2 separate regions of the Homo sapiens genome follow, and region 2 is linked to region 1. Evidence: promoter capture Hi-C in human tissues and cell types (Jung and others, 2019). All regions are on one chromosome and are shown on one strand. Each heading gives the region's core, a stretch centred on a gene start or on the middle of the fragment in contact. The rest is flanking DNA. Distances are from core to core; before and after follow the strand shown. Region 1 holds the start of CEP68 (centrosomal protein 68). Region 2 has its middle 8.1 kb from the start of SERTAD2.

What was found. The method cuts DNA at HindIII sites, captures the fragments that hold promoters and counts their contacts. A contact is called where the count stands out against the background at its distance.
Region 2: a contact is called between a fragment that was not itself captured here and the fragment with the promoter of CEP68 in region 1, in 1 of the 25 tissues and cell types used here (lymphoblastoid cells).

What each region holds. Positions count from the first base shown.
Region 1 is chr2:65,055,011-65,058,087 of GRCh38, reverse strand. It overlaps CEP68 (centrosomal protein 68), which reads right to left and starts at 1,672. Exons shown (of 7, transcript NM_015147.3): 1 at 1,560-1,672. RefSeq lists silencers at 440-519, 530-579, 1,210-1,549, 1,630-1,739 and an enhancer at 1,840-2,079. The HindIII fragment of the contact is 11,141 bases long and covers 1-3,077 here.
Region 2 is chr2:64,660,483-64,663,559 of GRCh38, reverse strand. No RefSeq gene overlaps it. Among named protein-coding and RNA genes, the nearest start is that of SERTAD2, 8.1 kb to the right of the region's middle. The HindIII fragment of the contact is 3,759 bases long and covers 1-3,077 here.

The sequences.
Region 1 (3,077 bases), core at 423-2,922:
CTGATCATTTTCTTTGTGCCAGGAACTATATTAGGCACTATACATCAATATCTTATTTAATCCTAATAACTCACCACACAGGTACTACTATTATTCCCATTTTTAAGGATGAGGAAACCAAGGCACGGAGAAGTTAAATAACTTAATGACACGCCTGTAATCCCAGCACTCTGGGAGGCAGAGGCAGGAGGATTGCTTGAGCCCAGGAGTTCAAGACCAGCCTGGACAACATGGCAAGACCCCCATCACCATTAAAAAAAAAATTAATCAGAGTTAGTAACATGGCAGAGCTAAAGCCTGTTTGACTTAGAGAGCCTGAGCTTAGCTGCCTTCCTAACCTGTAAGAATAACTCGCTCAAGAAGTTAAATAAATGTTTCTGTTGTGTCACCTTTAGACTACCACGCTGATTTTGTTTCCTTTTGGCTTCCTTCCATCATTGAGTGCCTTTTATGTTCCAAGCATTGTGCTAGGGGCTGGGGAAACCACAATACAGTGTGATGAGTAAAAACAGAGGCTGCAGAAGGTAGCCCAAAAAAGGGAGGAGTTATCAGTCGCAGGGTGGGGAAGTGCTTTAAAAAGCTTTGCGCAAAAGAGGTTAAACTGAATTCCTTGGGTTTTTTGTTGTTGTTGTTTTCTAAGTGGGCCAGAATTGACTCAACAGAGGGTGGGAAAGGGGAATGGAGGGAACAAAGTAAAAAGTGGTGACTTCTAGATCTTTCAACTAAACCCAAGGCAAACTGACCCAACAACCTTTGTTACACACTTTAACACAACACTCTTCATACCCTAGATCTGAGAACTGTTAGATTATTTACAAACGCTACCTCCCTTCGTGGTCCTGATGAATTCCCAGTGAGGTCCAATCTGCCCTGGCAGGCTTCCGCTCATTTTTGTTACAAACAATACACTAAACCCAACCTACTAATCATCAAGGGCCTGGAACAGGTTTTGGACATTCGTCCCCAGGCTGCTGAGAACTGTTCTAGTGATGACAGTTAGAAAGGGTAGCCCTCCGAGGCAAAAAAAATGAGACATCTTGATTTTTTCTCTCCGCATCTGGGCGCGGCGATAAGAAGACATCACTGGTCTCCATCTTTCCAGGGGGAAAGGCCCGAGCTGCATTAGCCCCGACTGGGGAGCTGGGTAAACAGCCCACGCCCGGGAGAGGCCTGAGGGAAAGTGACCTCCCCCGGGGCCCAGGCCGACCAGCGGCGCAGCTGCTCGGCCGCCAGATGCGCGGACTCGCGCACTCCCTCGCCGCGCCCGGGCATTCCCAAGCCCAGCCGCCCGCCTCGGCCCCGACCCCTCGGCCGCCACAGCACACGCCGTTCCGCTCGCAAGATGGAGGCGAAGGCACGAGGCGCCCCCGCCCCCCAGGGAGCCTTTGTGCCCTTGCCGGCGGGGACGCGAGGCCAGACGGCCCGCACCGCAAGGGCCCCGCAGGCACCGAAGAGACGCGGGGGAGGGGGCCGGGCGCGCGCGCGGATCTAGCCCGGGCCACCGCCCCCAGCGCCGCGGCACCCCCGACACCAGCACCCGCACGCGGGACACTGCCTACCTACCGCACCGCGAACGCTTCGCACGTCCGGAGCGGTCTCAGCAGCCCCATGCGCTGGCCCCGAGCTGGCGGACCCTGACTGCAACTGCGGCCCTCCAACCGCAGCCCAAAACGCGCAGGGCAGGACCGAGCGCCAACCACGCCCTTCGGCCGCGCTGACCACGCCCTTCTTCCCGCCCCTTCTCCCTCCGCGGGAGGGCTTTCGGCAATTTCGCGCAGCGAATCGCAGCTCTAAGTCCGCGGCTCCACCAATACGTGGACGCTCCTGCAAGATGAGCCCGCCCCCTACTTCGTCCTGGCCTATGGGAAGCCGGGACTTCTTCAGCGGCTGTCCTCCCTCGCTTTTGGAGCTCCGACCTCAGCTTCGCCTGCGAGCTGGGTTGTGTAAAGGCTGGTCATTTTGGGGCGCTTAGGGGTGGGTGCCGGGGGGCGCGCTTTCCCTCGTGAAGGTCGCTCCAGGAGTCATGCGTACATTCGTTCATTTTGCTCTGGACGCACTGATGTTCCCGGCTCGCCGCCGTGCCGCAGTCACGAGGCTCTCCGAACGCCTTTCACTGTGTTTCTGTTTACATTCGCGTCTGCAAGACCCGGCGGCGCGACCGAGGCCCGAACAGGTGCTGCGAGGCGGGGCGGGGAGCCAGTGCTGAGGGGAGCTCCCCAGGCCGGGTGGTTGAAGACAGCTTCTGGGGGGAGGTGGAGCTCTGGCTCGTGGAGAATGGGAAGGGTGTGGAAAATGAACTGGTAGCTACTTAGCCACTCTGAGCAGCCTGCTCTGATGGGAAATCGGTGATGGAGTCGGAGGGAAGTGGGAGGCAGCTTGTGGGAGGCCAGGGTGCTCACTCTCTCCCCTGCCAGCATGGGACCTAGTAACTTTCATACATCTCTATCTATCTATCTATTTTGCAAAGATGGGGTCTTGCTGTGTTGCCCAGGCTGGGCTTGAACTCCTGGACTCAGACGATCCTCCCGCCTCGGCCTCCCAAAGTGCTGGAATTACAGGTGTGAGCCACTGCATCCCATCCCCTAGGAGCTTAATGACACTGCCCTTTAGCTTTTACTGCTTAGCAGAATCCGGAGGCATAGAGGAACTACCACCAGGGTGGCGTGGGGAAGAGGCCCTCCCTTCTGATGATTTTCTCTCAGCAGCACTTTCAGCAATCTGGCTTCAACTGAATATCTCCCCAGTTCATAAAACAGGCGTCTGTAAATGTCAACCCCAGCTGGGTGCAGGGTACAAATTTTTTCCTACAGAGCTCTTGAGTCCCAGGTAGTTTAGGAGACAAGGACTTGTTTGGTTTTCCCAGACCTGTCAGGACAGCTCAGAGGTTTTGTCTAACCCAGGGGCCACAAACTTTGGACAACAGCAGCAGCTAGCCCACAGATGGTTTTATTTGGGCATCGCATAGCTTTTCTTTGTTTGTTTGCTTTTGTTTTTTAATAAGAATTTGAATCCCACCACCACCACTGGTCCATTAAGTAACAGCCAGCCTTCACACATTTGCTGCCTACCTGAAGGCA
Region 2 (3,077 bases), core at 297-2,796, 390 kb after region 1:
TTTCATATATTCTCTCCCAAAAGTTTAAAATTTTGTTTTACCTATTTAGTCTACCTGAAATATATTTTTTTGTAAATATTAGGCACCTAATTTATTTTTCATACAGGTAATCAGGTGGCCCTGAGCTATTTATTTATAATTTTTTTGAGACAGTCTCGCTCTGTCACCTAGGCTGGAGTGCAGTGGTACCAACATAGCTCACTGCCGCCTTGACCTCCTGGACTCAAGCGATCCTCCCACCTCAGCCTCCTGAGAATCTGGAACCACTATGCTCTGCTAAATGTTGGTTTTTTGTTTTGTTTTGTTTTGTTTCTTTTTGAGATGGAGTCTCTCTCTGTTGCCTGGGCTGGAGTGCAGTGGTGCAATCTCGGCTCACTGCAACCTCTGCCTCCCAGGTTCAAGTGATTCTCCTGCCTCAGCCTCCCAAGTAGTTGGGATTACAGGAGCCCGCCACCACGCCTGGCTAATTTTTTTTGTATGTTTAGTAGAGATTGGGTTTCACTATGTTGGCCAGGCTGGTCTCGAACTCCTTACCCCGTGATCCACCCGCCTCGGCCTCCCAGAGTGGTGGGATTACAGGCATGAGCCACCGTGCCCAGCCTGCTCAGCTAATTTTTAAAATTTTTGTAGAGACAGGGTCTCTTCATGTTGCCCAGGCAGGGTTCAAGCGATCCTTCTGCCTCAGCCTCCTGAAGTGCTGCGATTATAGGTGTGAGCCATCGTGCCTGGCCCTGAGCTACTTATTGAATTCTTTCCTTACTGATCTGTAATTTCACTTCAGTCATGTATTACACTTCCATATATATGTGGTTCTGAACTCTCAATTCTGTTCCATTGATCTATTTATCTGTACCTATGTCAACTCTACTCTGCTCTAATTACTAGAGCTTTATAATAAGCTCTGATAGGACATGTCCCCCATCTTGTTCCTTAAGCTTATTACAACTGTGTTTGGCCCTTTTCTATTTCAGATGAATTTTAGGATTCATTTGCCAAGTTCCATTGAAGGAAAATATGGGATTTAAATTTCATGTAATTTGTTGATAAGTTTGGGGGAGAATCTGCATGTATATAGTATTAAGTATTCTTGTCCATTAAATGGTATGGCTCCCCATTAATTTTTATCTTTTCATCTGATGAACTTTTGGAAAGGTGTTTGTCTTCTCACTTTTCATTTTTGGCTGTAATGAGAAAATCGTAATTCTGGAATCTTTATTCTCATTGCTGTTAATTGTTATTAAAACTAAAAGCATGATGTCTCACAGTTTTAAAGGGGCAACAAATCAGAATGGATTGAAAATCAGTATCTGATTAATTAAAAATTTTTTCTACCTTTTTGTAATTTGGGCTTTAGTTTCTTAAAGGAAGCTAAACAGAAATTATGTTGAAATTATCAACATTAGTCCCACAAAAATGATTTTTCCGTAGCCCAGTACTGGATTGTGCTGCACTCTGTGTAAAGAGGCCAAATGAATAGCTCTGCACTCATAGTGAGGGAATCTGGCACTTTTTAAGTGAGATTTTTGACTTGTTGTGACTCTTTCAGATGTATGTTTTCTTTTAAATGAATCATCTTTAAATATATGCATTGTCTGAGCAAGTTCAGGATTGTAAAGTGTACATTTAATTGTAACAGAACAGAACAGCAGTGGGCGTCTGTGCTACAGATGATATTCTTAGGGTATTTGCTGCCATCCACTCTCCTTTCTAAATTTGGTGTTACAGATTCAACTTCTGTTTTTAAAAGGGAAGTTGCAGATAGATCATTCACACTATTATTTTCTCCTTAAAGCTAGCTTCTCTGCCCATGTGAGGAGTTTCCTATAACCTAAACAAGACTTCTCCAAGAAAACCGCTTTGAAACAAATATTACTTAGCAAGATTAAATCTTTTGTTCAATATTTAAAGTATATTTTTGAAAAAACAATTGACTACTTATACAAGTGTACCTAATGTGGTGTTGGTGTCTGAGCTGCTTGCTTTATTTTCTTCCTACTTGACTTTACTCTGCATTTCTGAAATTTTAGATATAAAAATTTAAAAACTAAAAACAAAAAAGAGAAAGAGAACAAAAATTATACATTTTATTTTATTTTCATTCATTCTTTAATTTGTTTTGAGTCAGCTCTGTTGCCTAGGCTGGTGTGCAGTGGTGCGATCTCAGCTCACTGCAACCTCTGCCTCCTGGACTCAAGCAATTCTCATGCCTCAGCCTCCCGAGTAGCTGGGAATACAGGCGTGTGCCACCATGCCCAGCTAATTTTTTTGTATTTTTAGTAGAGACGGGGTTTTGCCATGTTTGCCAGGCTGGTCTCGAACTCCTGGCCGCAAGTGACCTGTCCACCTCAGCCTCCCAAGGTGCTGGGGTTACAGGCATGAACCACCATGCCTGGCTATAAATTTTAAATTGTGTGTGTGTGTGTGTGTGTGTATATATATATATTCCAGTTTAAAGCAAAAGACTAGTATTATTAGACAGGTTGGATAATTTTGAAAACGTCTTGTTTATTCTGGCAACAGGTCTTTAAAAGACAATTCTACATTAGCGACTAAAAGGTAAAGCCTACACAGTCTTGGCAAGTGTTACCTCTCCCCTAGAAAACTAATACAAATTCATGTGGCAAAGGGCTGATTCATTTTTAGTTGTATATTGTGTTTTACACTTAAACTGTATCTTCTGTTCACGTTTATTTTCTAATGATGCCTCATAGCCTAAACTTGGAGGCACTTCCTGGGCACCTATTCACATTAAAGTCTTGATTTTTTTTTTTAACTTCTCTTAAGTAGAATTTTTATAGCTGAGACTTCAAAAAATGGTTTAAATATATTATTTACATTACAAAATTCACCATGCTTAAAAGTCCTCTTTACTTATAAGGCTTAAAGGTACTCAATCCTAGATAGTTTCTACAATAAATATAAGAATATGTAAACCAAAAGATAGAATTTAGTCTAGCCAATCATATAAATTTGCTTGATTTTAAAACATAAAAACATTTAGCATTAGAGTAATACTTTGGAAAAAAAATATTTTTCCTGTCATCACTTTGCCATTTTTTCCTCAGAATTAACAGATA